Linked DNA regions of Homo sapiens: all the other regions are linked to region 5. Evidence: promoter capture Hi-C in 16 types of primary human blood cells and fetal thymus (Javierre and others, 2016). All regions are on one chromosome and are shown on one strand. Each heading gives the region's core, a stretch centred on a gene start or on the middle of the fragment in contact. The rest is flanking DNA. Distances are from core to core; before and after follow the strand shown. Region 1 overlaps TPP2 (tripeptidyl peptidase 2). Region 2 overlaps TPP2 (tripeptidyl peptidase 2). Region 3 overlaps TPP2 (tripeptidyl peptidase 2). Region 4 overlaps POGLUT2 (protein O-glucosyltransferase 2). Region 5 holds the start of ARGLU1 (arginine and glutamate rich 1). Region 6 holds the start of ING1 (inhibitor of growth family member 1). Region 7 has its middle 9.8 kb from the start of TPP2.

Region 1 (2,886 bases), core at 309-2,808, 3.9 Mb before region 5:
TGAGAGCTAAAGCAGTGAATTGAACAGCACCCAATATAGCCTGTTAATTTGCACACTGGTTTATAATGGAGCTATTGCAGCAGTGAGAGGCTTCTGAGGATAATCGGGTTGTACTACACTCATTCATTAAGCATATTTTTCTGTACCATCTGTGCCAGGCCCTTTTCAGTGGGCTAAGGTGGTGAGCTACTTAGACAAGGACCCTGCTTCCAGAGGCCTTGAGAGCATCTAGTCCAAGATATTGCAGTTAAGAGAACTGGATTAGAGGGAGGCAGCACAGAGTAGCGGCAAGGCCACGGGCTTTGGAAATTGAGAAGTCTGGGTTTGGATCCACACTCTGCCATACGCTAATGGTTACCTGGGGGCAGGTTTCTAAATTTTCTGGACTTCTGTTTCAACTGTAAATATAGTCGTTAGTCTGTTGTAAGGATTAGGGATTTTATAGTACTTGGTACATAGCTTGTCTTCGTTGGGATTACGCTCACACTTGACAGTACTTCTAGAGGGTGGAGTCAGAGTTGCTGTGTTCAGCATTCCTGGGGTCCCATTCTCATAGGGCCCCTGGGACTTGTAGAGCTCCAGGCTCTGGTAAAATGTGCACTGGTAAATTAAAGAATACAAATCTATGGTTAATTAATACTGAATTGGGTACTTGTTTAGTGATAAATGGCACTGATTTATGATTGGTTTAGGTTGGTATTGAAAATAATTTGTTTTTTTAAATAAAAATTATCAAATGATCTAGAATGCAAGTAGTTAAGAGAATTTAACAGTCTTAGTTTTATTTCAAATAATTAGAAATATTGTCATAACACTAGATTTTGTATTCTTAGCAACTGACTAGGTTCTGAGAGCTCTCTGCACACCTGGTTTTATGAGCCACGGCATTGCGCCTTGCTTCAGTTCCCTTGAATTAGCTTGGGTGTTCTTTAGAAAAGCTGCCAATCTGGCATTGCGGTGATCTTGGCTTACCTCCAGCGCTGGCTCAGAGTAAAGTTAAGCATAAGTAGTCGTGCCAGGCTTTGTAGACGCACACAGTACACAAGTAGACCAAGAAGAGAGATTAGGAAAAGTTATCAATGAGGAATTGAGGCATGATAACAAATAGAGGTTTCCAAAAATATAACCTTCCTTACTTTATCTGGAATTGACTGGTTTTCAGCTAAAACAAGGAGGGATTTTAAAAGGTACCCGATTAATGTAATTGTGTATGCATCTATGGACAGCTTGCTGTTTCCAGGTGTTTGCAGCCTCATGGTGGTGGTTCATTTTAATACCAGTTTCTTTCGTTCCCATAGAAAATCTTCTAGTCTTCTACCTTTATTAATATTTTGTTGATTCTTTGTTTTTATGGAAATATGCAGATTTGAGTGTACATTTTATTTTTGATCCCTATTATGTCCCTACATGGGAATTATCCCTAAGTGGGCATTATTAAAGCCACTTTATGTCAATTTTAGGTCTTATAAGTTTAAAGCTTTGCTTCTTTCTTTCTTATTTTAGAAGTGACAGTGTGTTCGTGTTCTTCTGAGGTGTCAGCAAAGTTTGTTCTACATGCAGTCCAGCTTGTGAAGCAAAGAGCATATCGAAGCCATGAATTCTATAAGTTTTGTTCTCTTCCAGAGAAAGGAACACTGACTGAAGCTTTTCCTGTCCTAGTAAGTTTAATTATAGTTTATAATCCTAACACAATTTATTTGCCTTTTTGGTATGGGCTAAGACTAAGTATTTGCATTTGATTTTATAGTTTGTATTTAGCATGTTGGGATTATATATTTTTTTAATGCCAAAAAAATGAAGTAGAAAAATAGAAAATCTAATCAGGGTACTTGAAATCAAGTTGGAGGTAATTATGGCTGTAATTCTTGAATAGCATAGTCAAAGAAACATACTAGTCTGGTAGATTCTCGTGCCTTGTAGTTAGGACCCTGATTTAGATTATTCTTTGTTGTACTATAGATTAATTTCTTTAAGACCTGTTTGCTTGTCACTTAACTTATTTTACTAATGCTGTGTTGTTAAGCTATGAGGCTAATTTGCATTATAGGAAAACTGCTACTGCTTCATGTCTAAGTTATCTCAGATGATGGCAGACTGCATTCTTATCTGTGGTGTTGGAAATGATGACTAGTCTTTCTTCCATAGAAGGTGAAAGTACTGATGTTCTTCCTTCAATGCGCTCCTTTGTGTTTTCAGTTGGTTCTGGGATTTTCCCAGTATCTCTTGGTTTCTGGTTACTTTCATTTGTGTTCTTCCATGGATCAGTGTTGCTTCATCTTTTTAAACTTTTAAATCACTGATTACTAGAAAACTTACTTTAAAACTCAGTGCTAAGAGCAGGTGTTTTTTTTTCCTTTTCCTTATCTTTATTTTTTAATAGGGAGAAAGATGTAAATGACCATAATGTCATTTTGTTTTGGTTGCCAGGTAGCTGTGAGCCCAAACTCAATTGTGCCTATTGAGTATGCCTTACAAAGTTGAAGTATCTTTATTGTGTCGTTATACTTGATTATTTTTCTTTTGGTCCTAATTTTTTATTTCACTTCGAAATAATAAAATCACATTTGCTTTATTATATGTGCTTTCAGAAGCTGCCTAGGATCTTTTATGACAAGAAGCATAGGGTTATGAGTAAATAACTATGTATATTTAAATACACCATATCTCTGCAAATGATTTGTCTAACTCTTACTTAGCATAGCTGTTAAAATTTTTGAGTTTTCTTGCTACAAACAGGAAAAGTTTGAAAACAGAATTGCTCTGAAACAGCTAGTATTTATATTCTGTAATTTGAGAAAAATAAGAAAAGAGATATATTTTATTTACTTTTATTTGCAGGGTGGAAAAGCAATTGAATTTTGCATTGCTCGTTGGTGGGCAAGTCTC
Region 2 (2,700 bases), core at 79-2,578, 3.9 Mb before region 5:
CATTATTCATAATGGCCAAAAGGTGGAATGTCCATCAGCTGATGAATGGACAAACAAAATGTGGTGTATCCATACAGGGGATTCCTTTTCAGCCATGAATGGGATTAATACATGCTCCAACATGAATGCACCTTGAAAATAGTATGTTAAGTGGTAGTAGCCAGTCACAAAAAGACCATGTATTATATGATTCTATTCATATTAAATGTCCAGAATGAGGAAATCTATAGAGATAGAAAGTAGATTAGTGGTTGCTTAGTGCTGGGGAGGCTGGGGAGATCTGATAGCAAAAGGGTATGGCGGTTTCTTTTTGTATTGATGAAAAATGTTTTAAAGTTGACTGTTGTGATAGTTACATATATCTGTTACTATGCTAGAAAGCATTGAAATTCACACTTAAAATGGGAAAATTGTATGGAGAAAAAATTGAAAAGGTTGTTTACCTAATAGGTGTTTTAGAAGAAAACAGCAAAAAATTATTAGCATTCCCTAGCAAAACTTTAAAAACCTTAGAACATTTTTTGGAAAAAAAAATTTATAATTAAGGTGCAGTAGTTTTAAAATGTAAAACGAAAGTGTTGATTTTGCCCTTGGATAATTGTTAGCGAAAAGAGAAAAACAGGACTTAATTTTTTTTGTACTAAGAATTAGTGTAAATTTTGTTGTCTACAAGTTAAATTTATTTTCATAGAAAGTTAGTTATAGTATCAAAATCCCGGTCAACCTTATTTTTATACTACTGTGCAGTTTTGTTAATATATTAAGTGACTTTAATGTAAGTTACCCACTTCTGGTGCTAGTTTGTATGTTAATTTGTTTTTATCCTGATACATATAATCAGGTAGAATTGGGAATTTTATTCAGCCTCCGCGTCGGGGAACATAGAATAACTCTTTATTGACTCAAGACTGGAATTTTCAGAAAAGTTTAAATTTTTATTTTTTCTAGAATTTTCAGAAAAGTTTAATAGATCTGAGACATTTTTAAATCTTTTAATCTTTCTAGCTATTTGTGAATATGCTTTTCTTCCTTTTAAATAAATATAATAGCTGGTATGTAAGAAAGCTATTGATGCATATTTTTATTTGGATATCTTATTGAACTCTTAATTGGAATAATTTTCAGTTTGATTTATTTATTTATTTTTTTTAATTAATTAATTAATTTATTTATTTTTTGAGATGGAGTCTCACTCTGTCACCCGGCTGGAGTGCAGTGGTTTGATCTCGGCTCACTGCAACCTCTGCCTCCCAGGTTCAAGTGATTCTCCTGCCTCAGCCTCCCGAGTATCTGGGACTACAGGCATGTGCCACCACCCCCAGCTAATTTTTGTAGTTTTAGTAGAGACGGGGTTTCACCATGTTGGCCAGGATGGTCTTGATCTCTTGCCCTTGTGATCCGCCTGCCTTGGCCTCCCAAAGTGCTGGGATTACAGGGGTGAGCCACCATGCCCAGCCCAGTTTGATTTATTTTTGTTTTCTAGTTAACCATTTATACTACTTGCCAATAATGATAATCCTTGTCAATGACTATACTTGTATTTCAAATTAATGTCTTATTTTATTGGCTTAAACTTCCAAACAATGTTAAATAATAGAGAAGACAAATAGTCTTTTTAAAAGAAAAAAGTAAATATTTCTCTCCTTCTTACATACATAGGCTGGATTCTAGTGACATTTATAACGAATTGAAAGAAACATATCCTAATTATCTTCCTCTGTACGTTGCACGACTTCATCAATTGGATGCTGAAAAGGTTAGACATGTTCATTCTGATATATCTTATTTTGTTTGTAATTATATAAGTTTGTGTTTTGAGGAAAAGTGCATTATCTTTCTCTTCTGTTCTTGCTAACTAAAACATGTTTTCTCAAATTGAATGTTGTGTTAAGCTGTTTTCATGAAGGTTATTATAAGACCTAGCCACTACTGTGAGTTTAGTTTAGGATTCTTGCTCATGCTTGGTCAATGAGATTAGTAATAGAGAAGATACCTTAACGATTGTTTTCATGACCTTAACCTAAAGGGCAAGGGGCAGAACGTAGTAATCCTGGCCAGATGGAAATCTGAACGCCTTCACTGAAAGAATTCCTACTTTGCATTAACTTTGTTAATGATTCTCATTTGTGAGAGTTGGCCATAGTTCTAGTCTGTCATGACATGGACCAGTTCTCATTATTCATCAAAGCAGTGGGAAAGTGCTGTCCTAATCAGTTGAAAATCATCAAGGGTTTAGAGTGAACCAGAGGGTATTTAAAGGAGATTTCTTAAAAGACTTTAACAAGAGAGAAGCAAATTGTTGGGAACATCATGGTAATCACAGTTAGACTGTTGATTATAATGTTTACTCTCATCTTTGTGTTTTTCATGATGGATCAGAAAGAAATGGTTTCATCAGCTAGGGCTTTCTTTTTTTTTCCTGTGTTCAGGTAGTGTGCAACTAGAGTAATGACAATAGCCAATCACATTTCTAGAATCTTAAGAAATACAGAAAAGGAGTTACCTTTGTTAAAAAAAAAACTTTACATTTTTATGAAGTTTATATTTTGCTTACTCTCACCATTGTACTCCAGCAGGGAATGTAAATAAGGTATTTTTATTATGCATCTGAGCTCAAGTTTTATAGAGATACCAGCAATTAGAAAAATCACAGTAGGAGATAGCAGGGAGCCCCTGGGCTACAAGTCAATTACATAGTTT
Region 3 (2,700 bases), core at 128-2,627, 3.9 Mb before region 5:
TTAAATATTAATGCACTTTTGTGTGTATTCATACATGTTGTTTTGTTGTGTGCATATGCATACACGTTTTGAAAAATTATTTTCCAGAGGCTTTATACAGAATAATAAACCTTGATACATCCACCATCTGGGGTAACATGATACAGTCACACTCAGTGATAAGCCTTAGGTGCGTTTTAGTGTGGGAAAGGAGGCAAGGTTAAATTCAAGGAAAATGCTAAATACGAAACAGAGTATATTTAGGAAAGTATATACTACAAAAGAACTTAAAGAAATACTAAAATATTAGCAGGGATTGAGTAGTGAGGCAATAGGTGGTTTCATTTAAAGTGTTTGCTCTAGGTTCTGAAAACACTGCAGATTACTTTGTCTTAGGAAAAGGAATCCGGAGTCAGGATGTCCAGGGTACCAGTGTGTGTTTCCACAAGATTTCCTTGGTCTTCAAGGTGCTTGATAAAGTGACTCACTTGTAGCAGTTTGTTGACAACTATTCTAAGGGTTTTGTTTAGAACTTTTGAGTTAGAAATGAAATTTAATCTAACATTAAGTGAAATAAAATCTGAAATCTCAGAATAACATTTTAGAACATTTTATTATAATAAATGAATATAGCATAATTATACTTTCAGGTGGTACTAGATATAATGTAACTTTTTTGCATAATACAGTATATCCTATAGGGCTTTGATCTCAGAGATCCAAAATTTTTTGAAGAGAACCTTGTAGATCCCAGGGTACATAAGGTTAATCCAGTCCTGTCTGCAGATGTTCTCATTTCACATTTCAAAAATGCCAACCATTTCTGAAGGGAGGTAAAGTGACCTATTCTTTAAGTACCGTGGGTTTTTTGTTTTGTTTTGTTTGATGACGAATGTCCAGTCTGTGCTCTCCCTGCCACATTTCTGCTAATTGTTTAGCGCGTATCTCTGCACTTAACGGGTGGCCTCAGATGACTCTGTTCTGAGCATCTGTCAGGACGCAGAGCCTCAGACTCATTGTCACTCCAAATGGAACAAAAACTGGTTGAGAGAAACAGTGTTTACAGAGGATTACATAAAGGAGAAGCTATTAGTTGATTTCTTTACAGTGGATTTTGACCTTGCTTATGTCATGTTTCCTTTTAGATTCTTGATGAAAGCTCTAGATTCTTTCCACAGAAAATTGAGAGATGTGTGAAAATGTCGAGAAATACATAAAACAAAAGCCTTTTCTCTCATCCTCCCCACTTACATGTACCCTGCTCTGTGTATGAGCCTCATTTTGATATCCTTTCTCTGTATTCTAGCTGCTACTTGAATTCAGTCAACTAGACCTTCAGAAAGTTATAACCTTGCACCACATTCATACTTGTCCTCTGTCGTGTTATTTAGAGAAGTCAGTAATAATTTATGTTTTGATGTGTTGGTTGTATTGTTGAGTCATTCCAATGATGGTGGTTATAAGAAACTGACCTGTGGAATGTGTCACTGTATTTGCTGTGAGAATGTTGTTAAGGATGATGATTTCGTTAATTCCTTAATCATGTGGCAGATGTTTATTGAGTACCTTCTTTGTACCAGGTTGACACCATAGAAGCTACTCCATGGACTCTAGATTCCATGGAAGCAAGTGTTGGGAACGTCTGAACCAGTCTAGGAAGAATCGAGAAAGATTTCCCAAAAGTATTAATAACATCTTACATTGAGACTTGAAGGATCATCACAGTAAACTAAGCAGAGAGGTAGAAAGGGTGGGGGAAAGATCCAGAGGATGTTGGAGGAACTGTGAGAAGTTTGGTGTGGCCACAGAGGATATGATGGGAGCAGGAGGTGAGGGAGGTGAGCAGATGATTATTAGGGGCATTGCTCTGGAGTTTCAATGTTAAGAGCCGTTGGAAGACATGGAAGGTTTTCAGCAGGAGTCAAATGTAGGGGCAGAGCAGGCCATCAGCTCATCAGGCAACAGCGGTAAGGAAGAGACAGTGGAAATAGGCGGACACATTATGGAGATGGGACTGTGCGGTTAGATGGGCTGGGGGAAGAACAGAGGGAGGACTTTGTAGATGACTTCCAGGATGGATGCTGGCCGATTGCATAAATTTTGGAGACAAGTGCTACTTCTGTAGCATGTGGAAGATTTGGTGACATGCATTTTACCCACTAATCTCAAGCCTGATTCTGTTTAATATGTGACTTGTTTGCTCTTTGCTTCATTTTCTCCATAAGTGTTTAGTTTCCTATACCTTCGTATATTCTATTATTTGAAATTACATCAGTCATATTAGGGCAATGCATAAAAACAAATTTTTAAGAATCCTTTTTTCCAAAGTGTTGTAATTTGTTAATGAAATATGCTTCAGTATTTATGATAAATCATCTCTCTGTGCTCTACCAGTAGGCTTCTATTAATTTACTTGGCAATTTTGACTGACTTGCATAGCTTGTTAAAATACAGTTCTTGCATTTAAAACATACTTAGAGCTAAAAACATAATATTGAACTTTTAATGATGTTCATTTCATTTATGACTTTTTGAATATTAAGTGTATTTTGTTTTAATCAGGCTATCTTCTAAAGTGTTCGGAATATAATTTAAAAACTATTTTAGTTAGTAAAATGGAAAAAACATGAAGGAAGACAACCATAAAGTAATGTAGAAAATGCCTTCTGTGAGAAATAAATTTAAGTCTGTTATAACTATAGGACTGAAGCTCAGTAAAAT
Region 4 (2,700 bases), core at 157-2,656, 3.8 Mb before region 5:
TTAGAGTATTTACAAAACAACAGATATACATTTTTAAGGCCAGAAAAGCACTGACCAGTCTGAGAAGCATCTTGAGAAACCGAAGTCCTGAAGAACATTCTCATTTTCCCATGGATTGACAAAGAGGAGCAAGAGAAGTATGACGGTACTCTGATGTCTTAGTTTAAAGGAGGCTTAATATTGATGCTATATAACTACCTACATTCAGAATTAACAGACTGTAAGTGCTTTGAAATCTTGAAAAAAAGGCATTATGATTTTCCATGAGTAGTTTAATCAAGATATACATGCAAATTATTCAACAAATAAATATAATAGATTACAAATAAATATACATTTGGTAAAAATGTTGGTAGAGTCTTTCACATCCACCATTTTAACATTACTTTCAAACCATTCCACTAGAACCCAACAAAAGCCCATTATCCCAAGGAATGGGATTCAGTACAAGGCAAGTCATCTTTGGACTCAGAGTTAGTTTAGTACCAAAATAATTTTATGATAAGGCATTTTTCTTTCCTCTATAAAATATTGTGTCCCTGCAAAAGATATGCTGAAGTCTTAAATCCCAGTGTCTCAGAATGACCTTATTTGGAAATAGGGTTGTTGCAGATATTAGTTAGCATGAGGTCATACTGGAGTAGGCTGGGCCATTAATCCACTATGCTGTGTCCTTATAAGAAGAGACCCAGAGACATGAGGGGAGAAGCCCACGTGATGACAGAGGCAGAGATGGGAGGATGCAGCTGCAAACCAAGGAACACCAAAGATGGAGGGCCACTGACAGCAGCCAGGAAGAGGCAGGAAAGGAAAGGAAAGGATCATCTCAGAGGGAGCTGGCCTCCTGACACTTTAATTTTTTTTGGGGGGGGACAGGATCTCACTCTTGTCACCCAGGCCTTGGGAGTGCAGTGGCGTGATCTCGGCTCATGCAGCCTCGACCTCCTAGGTTCAAGCGATCTTCCTGCCTCAGCTCCCCATTAGCTGAAACTACTACAGGCTAATTTTTGTATTTTTTGTAGAGACAGGTCTTCACCATGTTGCCCAGCCTGGTCTCAAGCTCCTGGGCTCAAGTGATCCACCCGCTTTGACCTCCTAAAGTGCTAGGATTACAGGCGTGAGCCATGGCACCTAGCTGACACTTTGATTTTGGACATCTGGCCTCCATAACTGCCAGAGAATACATTTCTGTTATTTTAAGGCTTCCAGTTTGTAGCACTTTGTTACGGCAGCCCTAGGAAACAAACGCAGGTACCTGAAATAACAGAAAGCTTCAGAATAGTATTATCATAAGGCTCCAGAAGAGAATACCCTGATAGTGTATAATTTGTATTTTGAAAAATTATCCTGTAAAATCTGGGCTTAAATTATCTATTACAGCTAAGAGAAAATATATACTTACCTTTCTAGTCAAAGAAAGTAGTATGGCATCCATGAAAATTCTAAAACCTACATGTTCACCATGAGTCTTGATATAAACCTAAAAGAGAATTTACCATTTATTATGTTAGTCTAAAGACGCTGGCAGACTTCACTGAGGAAAAGCTTGTCACAGTGCTCATTCGAATGATGTTTATAAAATGATTTAGCTAATTGTAGCCAAATGTTCAAAACAAGAAAAAAAATCACTAAAACAAACAAGCAAAAAATCATGTGTTGTACCTTGTTATCCTTTAAGGTGTAGTGACATAGGCTCTGCCTCTGTCCAAATCTTTTTGGGATTTCTACTGCAATCTTTTCTGGATCCACAGCAGGGAAATGTGCCAGATCTCTCTGAATCTGAGCAATGGTTTCAGGGCAGTTCATCTCCCGTAGCCAGGCTGCACTATCTTGCAGAGGACAGTCACAGTTCTCATGGTAAACCGGCCCTATTTACATAAGAATAACAAAGTACAACAGTGATCATTTCACTCAGCATTCGAAACTTGTAATAAACATCTATAATGTGGCTTCATGAATTTTGCTTAGTTACATAGGAAGAGCATTTTCATTGAAAACACATTTTAAGAGAATTACAGGCCAGCAAGGTTGGCTCATGTCGGTAATCCCAGCACTTTGGGAGGCTGAGGCAGGAAGACAGCCTGAGCCCAGGAGTTCGGGAGCAGCCTGGGCAACACAGGGAGACCATGTCTCTACAAAAAATAAAAAATTAGCTGGGTGCGTTGGCATGCACCTGTGGTTTCAGCTACTTGGGAGGCTGACGTGGGAGGATCACTTGAGCCCAGGAGGTTGAAGCTGCAGTGAGCCATGTTTGCGCCACTCCATCCTGGGCAAGACAGTGAGAGCCCGTTTCAAAGAAAAAAAAAGTAATACATTTTTACTATACTGGGGCATTGCAAGTAAGTCAGCCTTCTACTCTGACAGCTCTTCACAGTGAAGTTTTGTGATATTTTCATAATAATAAGGTCTACTTTGCATGAGTTCAAAAGAAAGGAAATAGAGGCTGGGTGCAGTGGCTCACGTCTGTAATACCAGCACTTTGGGAGGCTGAGGTGGGTGGATAACTTGAGGTCAGGAGTTTGAGACCAGCCTGGCCAACATGTTGAAACCCCATCTCTACTAAAAATACAAAAAAGTTTAGCTGGGTATGGTGGTGTGTGCCTGAAATCTCAGCTACTCAGGAGGCTGAGGCATGACAATAGCTTGAATCTGGGAGGTGAAGGTTGCAGTGAGCGGAGATTGTGCCACTGTGCTCCAGCT
Region 5 (2,843 bases), core at 133-2,632:
AAATAAAATCAACCCTTCAAGTGTCTTCTGAAGAAGCACAGTGTAAGGGAAACAACAAAACTGCACGTGTTTGCTACAGGAATAGAAAGCAAGTTAAAAAAGCGGTAGGCTTTGGGATGGTGATTACACAGGTGAATTCAAAGGTCAAAAAACTCATCGCACTGTACACTTAAGGTCTATGCTTTTTTTTTTTAACATCTCAAGGAAGGGGTGAGGGTGTAGGCTCAAGGGGAAAAAAGCAATCCCAACACCTTAACAACAGGAATACACTAAAGTGAAAATGCATTTTTCTGGCGGACCACCTAAAGTGTATGATTCCCGAGATTAGTTAAGTCCTGTCCCAAATTTGAGCTTCAATAGAATGCTTCTGGCCAGCTGTGATTCGCATCTCAAAGGTTAATTCCCTTCTCTCTCCTCCTCAAGCCGACCAGCAAACGCTCACCACCCTCCACATCTGCAGGCCGGCTCGCTCCCGGCCTCACAAGCCAACGCAGCTCTCCGACCTCACTCCGAACTCCACCCCTACTTCCGGGACACCACTCCTCTCTCGCGCCAAAATCGCCTTCTCTTAAACCCTTTCTGCTCAAGCCCTCGAATTTTCCATCCCGAACAACTTCTGGGTCTGTCCCACCCCAAGCTTTCCAAACGCCAAGCCTGCCCGCCCCGCCGCCGCCTCTCCGACCCGTTCCCGCGCCCGGTCCCCAGCCCCGGACCGTCCCCGCCATTCTCCCGGCCCGCACCGTCCCGCCCCGGCCCCACGCCCTCGCCCCGCGCCCTGCTCTCCGCACGCCCCGGTCCCTCCCCGCGCGGGCACTCACATTTTTCGCTGCCGCTCGAACTCCGCTTTCTTCTCCTCCTCCTCTCGCTTCTGCTTCTCGTCCAGGCTGCTGCGCTTGCTCACCGTGCGCCCGAAGATGTCGATGCGGTCGGGCGGGGACGAGGCGCGCTCCCGGTCCCGCTCGCGCCGGGACACGGCCGTGTTGGTGGAGCGCGAACGGGACCGCGACTCCCGCCGCCGGTTCCGTTTACTTTCCCGAGATTTGGAACGCTTCCGCACGCGCTCCTTGTCCCGGGATCGCGACCGGGACCGGCTGCGCTTCTTGTTGTGCTTGCTGCTCTTGGTGTGCTTGGAGCGGGACGAGCTCCGGCTCCGAGACCGGCCCATCCTTCCGGGAGACGCTCTAACCGCTCGCCTCAGGCCCCTCACGCGGCCAGTTCCCCTCGCCTCCGCCTTCGGACGCGGGCTGGCGGTTCTACCGAGGCCGGAGGAAAGAAAGGTGTCGGCCAACGGACTTTATGCCTTTTCCCGGCGTCTACAGCTGCCACGAAGGCCGCCTCCAACGAGAAACCCGTAGCGCCAGGCGCCCCTAAGATGGCAGCTGCGGCTGCACCGGCCGCCCTTCCCACAATGCCCTGCGCGAAACGTGCCGAAGCGTGGGCCCCGCCTCCTGACGATTTTTGCCGAAGGCAGGCGAGCGCTTCGGAGCGGACTCGTTTTTTTCCGCCAGTCTTGGCGGAAGCCTGAGACGCAATAGATGGAGACTCTCCTTTTCGCCTTGGCGTACTCTTTTTTTTTTTTTCCTCCCTGGTAAGATGCCAACGCCTGTTGAATGAATTAAGCACGTTTTAGTGGGATTTAAGTCCGGCCTCGCAGAAGTTGATTGATTGCATTATTTTCTAGGAGCTGGTCTTGTGGGGCAGCCCTAAAATGTATCTCCAAGTGACCCTGCACTCATCACTTGCTGCCTTGGACTTAGTTTCCTCATTCGTAGAATGGAGACACCACACTTTCTGAAGTGCTTATGAGACTTGCAGGAGGTAAGTAGGCAGCAGGTTTTGATGAATGTAACCTAATGCTTACTATAGGGCTTAATGTGCCTTCTAAATGCTTTAATGTATTAACAAGTGCTTAATTCTTACAATTCTGAATTAAGTACTACTATTATCCACGTTTCAGAGATGAGGACCCTGAGGTCCACAGAGGTTAAATAAGGGTCACACAACCAGTAGGTGACAGAGCAGGGACGTGAACCTAGATCATATTGTGCAAAGCCCTTGCACATAACCAGCAAGCCCTCCTCAACCCTAGCCACGAAAAGCTTCGTCCCTATGTGGCACAACAAACTGTGTCATTGTTAAGACCTAAAAGGAAAAGGCAATGTTAATATTTGCAGATGACAGGAACCCTTGAAAATCTAGGTGCCTCAATTTTAAAATTGAGTGCAATAATAAAGCTTAAGTAAGTAGAAGAAAAATTAGAATTATTTGAATAAGCAAAAACATATTAAAAATGAAATAATATTTCCTCCACAATGGCAACAGAAACCATAAAATACTTAGGGATAAACTTTAACAAGTTACACAATCTTTATTATAAACCTTTACTGAAAAGGCAGTAATAAGGCCCTAGTAAATGTAAAACATGCTGTATTCTTAGGTGAGTAGTCAGTATCAAAAATACTGTCAATTCTTCCCAAGTCAAATTACAAAATTAGTGCAATTCTCATGAGAGTCCCAAATTCTCTTGGGGATATGTGTTTTAGAACTAATTAATTTTAAGTTTTATATGGAAGATCACATAATTAATTATCAAGAAAACTTGGAAACAAAGAAGAGTAGTGTATTAGTCTGTGTTGACTGCTGTAACAAAATATCATAAACTAGGCAGCTTATGAACAACAAATTTATTTCTCACAGTTCTGAAAGTTGGAAATCCAGGATCCAGGTGCTAGCCAATCTGGTCGCTGGTGAGGACCCAGAGATTCACAGATGACTCACAGAAGGCACCTACTCACAGTGCCCTCACATGATAGAAGGGGAAAGCTAGCTCTCTGAGCTCTCTT
Region 6 (2,766 bases), core at 267-2,766, 4.1 Mb after region 5:
GCTGGGGACAGGGCTTAGTTCGTGGAATACACAGGCAGCACCACCAACCCGGCTCTCCGGAAAAGAGAAAGTCCAGTGAGAAAGGTGAAAACTGACAAGGCACCGTTCTCCGACTTGCTGAAAAAAAGACAATGCAAATAGAGCAGGGTCCAAGGCGGAAGAAAATCAGAGAAAAGCAGGCAGCCAAGCGTGGCGAACACAGCTCTCGGGGCCACCCCGGAGGGGACCCGCGGCGGCCGCAGCGGGGCGGAGGCCGAAGCCGAGGCCGCCCCGGAACCAGAGAGCCAGGCGGGAAGTGCACAAAGGCACGAGGCCACGCCCAGGAGGGGCGGGCCCTTTGGCCGGAAGGGGGGGGGCCGGCGCGCGGGGCCGGTCGCCTAGGCAACGGGCTCGCGTGGCGTCCAGGCTTCTCAGAAAGCCCAAAATCCGGGAGCTTTGGGAGGGTAGAGGGGCGACGCGGGGGAGGGCGGTCCGGGGAGCTGAATGGCCTCAGGACGCCGGCCGACCGGGTGTCTGCATACTGTGGGCGGCCTTTCCAAGTGTGGGGAGCGGCCTCCGAGAACGGTGTCCATGACACAGGGCGGGAAGAGATAAGGCCTAGGGAAGGCGCCCCTCGGGCCTATCCACCTCTTCTGGGGCTCGGCACTAGGAAGCAGCTTCCCTCTCAGGCCCCTTTGTCTCCAAGCCGTTCCAAACTGAGTACCGGGAGACGACACAAAGGGAGGGCGGTGACGGATGGCGCAGGCGCGGGAGCCGCCTAGGCTGCTGGGAGTGGTGGTCCGGCCGCGGAATGGGTAGGTCTCCCGCGCACTCTGCGGCCGCAGCTCAAAGGACACCGAGAGGGTGCCAGTGCGCATGCGCCGCCACTTCCGCCCGTGCCCGGCCCTCCCCTTCCTTCCGCCTCCCGGAGGACTTGGGTTTCTAGTAGTAAGAGTCCGGGGGGCATTACTCACGGTCTCCCCGCCTCCTCTTCATCGTGATTGGGCTGTCAAAGTGATGTTGGCAAGTAGATTGGCTACTGCGGTTGCCAGTTCTGTTTCGGGCCCTACTTATACTGCTCTGTGGGGCGGGGACGAAGAGTCAGGGGCTGAGGAGCGAGTTGCGGTAGTTGCTGTGTACCATGGTCTCGGAGGTTTCTGTCCCGCGGCCCGTTAGGTCCTGGTCGGGTTTTCAGCGAAGCAGGCCGCTCCCCTGCGTTTCCCAGCGGGCGTGCTGTGCCGCCCAACAGGCTCTGCCTCCAAGTGCCAAAAACTCCTAGTAAAGTTTGCGCCTCGCCCGCCGTCCACACCCCAGCGGCCCTGACGCTGTCCCCTCCGCGACCCTCGCCTCTGGAAAAAGTGACAGGCAAGGCCACGCCCCCGCGAGGGCCGGCCTGGAGCCCGCAGCCCCCAGGGCCTGGGACGGTGAGGGGCGTGAATGCGGCGGGGGGCGGGGCCGTTGCCGGGGGAGGGGGCCGGGGCGCATGCGCGCTGCGCAGCGGGGCTGAATGTTTCCCAAGTGTTTGAAACTGGTATTTGGGTTTTCCACGTTGGACAAGTGCGGCTCGGCGGCCAGCGGAGCGCGCCCCTTCCCGCTGCCCGCTCCGCTCCTCTCTTCTACCCAGCCCAGTGGGCGAGTGGGCAGCGGCGGCCGCGGCGCTGGGCCCTCTCCCGCCGGTGTGTGCGCGCTCGTACGCGCGGCCCCCGGCGCCAGCCCCGCCGCCTGAGAGGGGGCCTGCGCCGCCGGCCGGGGCGTGCGCCCGGGAGCCACCGCCACCGCGGCCCGCGCCCTCAGGCGCTGGGGTCCCCGCGGACCCGGAGGCGGCGGACGGGCTCGGCAGATGTAGCCGCCGGGCCGAAGCAGGAGCCGGCGGGGGGGCGCCGGGAGAGCGAGGGCTTTGCATTTTGCAGTGCTATTTTTTGAGGGGGGCGGGGGGTGGAGGAAGCGGAAAGCCGCGCCGAGTCGCCGGGGACCTCCGGGGTGAACCATGTTGAGTCCTGCCAACGGGGAGCAGCTCCACCTGGTGAACTATGTGGAGGACTACCTGGACTCCATCGAGTCCCTGCCTTTCGACTTGCAGAGAAATGTCTCGCTGATGCGGGAGATCGACGCGAAATACCAAGGTACGGCCGGGTGATGGATGGGCGGGGGCGGCCGCCTCCTTCCCGGCGGGTCCGGGCGCGCCGCGGAGCCGGGCCGGTCCTGCCGTGGACCGGAGGAAGCGGCCGGCTCCGCAGCGGCGGCCCTCGGCAGGGGCAGGAACAAAAGGTCTGGAGCGCCTTTGATTCGCCAAGGTCCTTGTGTGCAAAGCCCGGGACACGGAGGAGGAAGGAGGCGCGAGAGGTCTCGCTGCAAGGCTGCGCGACCAAAGCGCTCTTTGTAGTGAAGTGATGAGGCGGGTGCTGCGGGGGAGGGGGCGGCGGGTCCAAGCCGCGTCCTCTAGGAGGGGGTGCAGATTACGGCGCGAGATGGAGGGATGTGCCGGCGCCTGGGGCTATAGGGCGCCGAGACGGGGCTGCAGGAGGAGGGCGGCTGTGGGCCGGGGTTCCCGCGGACCCGGTGCCTCGGTCCCGGGCAACGCCGTTCCTCTGGCCCTTCTTCGTCGCCCCCCACTCAGTCCCGAATCTGAGTGTTACATAAAGTACCGGGTAGTACTCCGCTCGGGGTAGGTCGGCCGCCCCCGCCCAGCCCCCTCCGGCCCTCACTTGGAGCTGGACACCGAGTAGGGGCCGACTGCGAGGGGCGACGCCGCCGGTTGTAGTTTGCGGAGGACGAGGGCTTTTCTCT
Region 7 (2,764 bases), core at 113-2,612, 4.0 Mb before region 5:
ATGTCTGTTGTTTAAAAAATTAGATTCTAGAAACAGTATAAATGTATCTGTCCATAAAATATTTGACAAATTATAAAGTAAATTTTGATGATTTACCTCAAGAAAACAAGGTCCCTTTACTGTATGGCTAAGCTGATTTTTAAAAACATTTCTTGCAAACTAAGAAGTCCTCTTTTAAAAAAATTGTGTACTTTAGTAAGTCTTAACTTGAGGTGGTGTAAATCTGACCAGTTTTGGTTTTGTTTATTGAGTCTCTACTACATACAGTCACATTTTACTAATAGCAAATAGCAAATAGTTATTAGCACTGTGGAAGCTATTTTTTCTCATGTAACTTTTTTTTTTTTTGAGAGAGAGAGAGAGAATCTTGCTCTGTCGCCCAGGCTGGAGTGCAGTGGCATGATCTCTGCCCACTGCAACCTCCGCCTCTCGGACCCAAGCAATTCTCATGCCTCAATTTCCCGAGTAGCTGGGATTACACGTGTGCACCACCACATCCATTTTTGTATTTTTAGTAGAGACGGGTTTCACCATATTGGCCAGGCTGGTCTTGAACCCCTGGCCTCAAGTGATCCACCTGCCTCAGCCTCCCAAAGTGCTGGGATTACAGGTATGAGCCACCAAGCCCGGCCTCATTTATACTCATATAACTTCCAAATTGATGATAGAGGAAGCAGAGGCCTTGCTAAAGGTCAGGTAGCTAATTAGTGGCAGACCTAGACCTAGAAGACAAAACCCTTTATCTGCTGCCCAGATGCTTTTGCTACCATATTGTTGGCTTCTCTTGTTCACTTCAGGATGTTCGGTATCATCATTGAGATTCGCCTTTAACTGGAATCTTAAACCTGGCAAGTTTTTCTGACATTCCAAATGTGGGCAGATGGACAGGTTTTATGAAGTCCCACGCAGGTGCCACAATTGACAACAGCCCCAGTTAGGCAGGTCCAGGCATGAGCCTATCCAGTGAAGCACCACAGGGCAGGAACTACACCTTGGACAATGGCTTGTCTGATTTAATACATGTCTGCCATCCTCATGGTGATTTATTGTCATGGAATTCAGTGAGAGAATGTTTTTGCTGATTAATATACATCAGGAATTGAGGTGAAACAAAGTAAGTACTATATGCCCTGTTCTAGCAGAAGCTGCTTTAAGTAAGGGAAAATTCCATATGATGTCAAATAAAAGTGTCAAATTTAAGGATACAAAGGAATCACCTGTCAACCCAAAAGCAGAAGCTGATTGGATCAGAAGCTCACTGTAAGCCCCCATCACACACTACATACCCATTTGCTTCTTCTCTGCCTCGGGTCAGGACTCTACTCCTGGTCTATCGTCTGTGGCCAGAAGGTAAGTGGGTTACATTCTTCCGGCCCACTTAGCAGGGACTGTGGGTTGAATGCCTCTAAGGATGGGAGTGGAACTTATATAAGCCATATACAGACATCTGACTTTGTCAGAACTAAAGTAAATGATGACCTTTATTACCCAAAAGGCTTATGTTTTGGAAACAACTGTACTTGCAAGAAAGGACCCATTTCCAGCTTCTCAAGAGATTTAAAAACAAACACATGGAGTTAAATAAACTGATATATCCAAACAAATTAATAGTACGCCTAATTAACAAGAAAGAATAAAATTCTACGTACGAATATTCATCAGGAAATATTGTGAAGCAAAAAACAAAGAAAAAAATAAAGTGCAGGACAGTGAGTATAGTATACTACAATTTGTGTAAAAAAGGAAAGAGGAAATATATGCATCATATTCTTTGTATGCATACGACATTTCTGGAAGGATACACAATTTAAGTCTAGAGAATTTTACACTCTTCAAGCTGCAATGTTTCTTGGGCATTCCTTTCTCTCTGTGATACTACAACACATAATGTTATCCTGTTTTTGTATTATTCTTTTTTTCTCACTCCTAAGAACACCAAGTAATAGAGTTAGAGAGACTATGCAATCAGTAATTACCAAATAGTGTAAACATTTGATATTAAAATAAATTGGGCAAATGCACAAAGATTTGAGAACCTATTCTGAGTTAGAAGCAGTGTGAGACATCACTGGGTATGGTAGAACACAATTCTTTGGCCAGGGAGGACATAGTGTAGTTCAACCACCATTTCTGAAGCACTCAAGTGCTAGGTGGTACACAGTTAGGAAGATAGGACTCTCAGATGACCTGGGGTAGTTTCTTCTATCCAGGGGGTTATCCATGAGTAGAGGCCTCCTACTGTCTGTCTAGCAGTTCACACAAGGTTACTAACCATGGGGGGGGGCACTTCCTGTTGTAGATGATGCAGGACATGAGAGCACCAAAACTGGGAGGATTCTTGGCTTCCCTCAGGAAACAATTCAAGGGCAAGCCAGTCGTGTTAGCAACCTTTTACTGAACAGCACTGCTCCTTGCAGTGCACCCAGAGTGAGCAGCATATGGGCTCTTCGCAACTGGGTTTATACTCACTTATACCCACTTACAATTGCATGCAAATTAAGGGGTGGGTTAATGCAAACTGAGGGTTGGGTTATTTAGAACTTTTTAGGGAAGGGGAGGTAACTTCCAGGTAGTTGCCACGGAAAAAGGTGTAGCTTTTGGGTTGCTGCCATGGCATTTGAGAACTGTCACGGCACTGGTGGGACTGTTTTATGTCAATGAGCAATGAGGGCAGCGAGGGATCACTGTTGTCACCATCTGCTGGTTCCTACGGTTTCTTCACCTCATTCATTGGCACCAGGAAATAAGTCCTGCCAGTCCCCCA

Evidence for each region. Contacts are between HindIII fragments. The CHiCAGO score rates a contact against its expected background, and 5 or more counts as called.
Region 1: a fragment that was not itself captured here is called in contact with the fragment with the promoter of ARGLU1 in region 5 in 4 of 17 cell types (total CD4 T cells, naive B cells, naive CD8 T cells and 1 more); the score reaches 13.0 in total CD4 T cells.
Region 2: a fragment that was not itself captured here is called in contact with the fragment with the promoter of ARGLU1 in region 5 in 2 of 17 cell types (total B cells and total CD4 T cells); the score reaches 11.1 in total B cells.
Region 3: a fragment that was not itself captured here is called in contact with the fragment with the promoter of ARGLU1 in region 5 in 10 of 17 cell types (total B cells, naive B cells, naive CD8 T cells and 7 more); the score reaches 26.9 in total B cells.
Region 4: a fragment that was not itself captured here is called in contact with the fragment with the promoter of ARGLU1 in region 5 in 6 of 17 cell types (non-activated CD4 T cells, total B cells, total CD4 T cells and 3 more); the score reaches 12.9 in non-activated CD4 T cells.
Region 6: the fragment with the promoter of ING1 here is called in contact with the fragment with the promoter of ARGLU1 in region 5 in 1 of 17 cell types (monocytes); the score reaches 5.2 in monocytes.
Region 7: a contact is called between a fragment that was not itself captured here and the fragment with the promoter of ARGLU1 in region 5, in 13 of 17 cell types (naive CD8 T cells, total CD4 T cells, non-activated CD4 T cells and 10 more). The highest score is 26.7, in naive CD8 T cells.

The regions. Positions count from the first base shown.
Region 1 is chr13:102,641,719-102,644,604 of GRCh38, forward strand. It overlaps TPP2 (tripeptidyl peptidase 2), which reads left to right. Exons shown (of 30, transcript NM_001330588.2): 17 at 1,504-1,658; 18 at 2,839-2,886. Among named protein-coding and RNA genes, the nearest start is that of TPP2, 46 kb to the left of the region's middle. The HindIII fragment of the contact is 167 bases long and covers 1,476-1,642 here.
Region 2 is chr13:102,661,989-102,664,688 of GRCh38, forward strand. It overlaps TPP2 (tripeptidyl peptidase 2), which reads left to right. Exons shown (of 30, transcript NM_001330588.2): 26 at 1,660-1,756. Among named protein-coding and RNA genes, the nearest start is that of METTL21C, 32 kb to the right of the region's middle. The HindIII fragment of the contact is 4,346 bases long and covers 1-2,700 here.
Region 3 is chr13:102,619,763-102,622,462 of GRCh38, forward strand. The region is part of intron 5 of TPP2 (tripeptidyl peptidase 2); the gene reads left to right. Among named protein-coding and RNA genes, the nearest start is that of TPP2, 24 kb to the left of the region's middle. The HindIII fragment of the contact is 6,535 bases long and covers 1-2,700 here.
Region 4 is chr13:102,791,939-102,794,638 of GRCh38, forward strand. POGLUT2 (protein O-glucosyltransferase 2) reads right to left here. Exons shown (of 10, transcript NM_024089.3): 3 at 1,663-1,868; 4 at 1,403-1,480. Among named protein-coding and RNA genes, the nearest start is that of POGLUT2, 5.7 kb to the right of the region's middle. The HindIII fragment of the contact is 274 bases long and covers 1,270-1,543 here.
Region 5 is chr13:106,566,755-106,569,597 of GRCh38, forward strand. It overlaps ARGLU1 (arginine and glutamate rich 1), which reads right to left and starts at 1,383. Exons shown (of 4, transcript NM_018011.4): 1 at 819-1,383. The coding sequence starts at 1,165. RefSeq lists a silencer at 545-844 and enhancers at 739-1,649, 1,325-1,444, 1,455-1,524. The HindIII fragment of the contact is 1,462 bases long and covers 636-2,097 here.
Region 6 is chr13:110,712,184-110,714,949 of GRCh38, forward strand. It overlaps ING1 (inhibitor of growth family member 1), which reads left to right and starts at 1,517. Exons shown (of 2, transcript NM_198219.3): 1 at 1,517-2,102. The coding sequence starts at 1,967. It also overlaps a transcript of CARS2 not described here. RefSeq lists enhancers at 1-33, 634-683 and silencers at 174-513, 187-355, 1,354-1,703, 1,714-1,903, 2,064-2,353 and 2 more. The HindIII fragment of the contact is 10,550 bases long and covers 1-2,766 here.
Region 7 is chr13:102,585,828-102,588,591 of GRCh38, forward strand. No RefSeq gene overlaps it. Among named protein-coding and RNA genes, the nearest start is that of TPP2, 9.8 kb to the right of the region's middle. The HindIII fragment of the contact is 4,556 bases long and covers 1-2,764 here.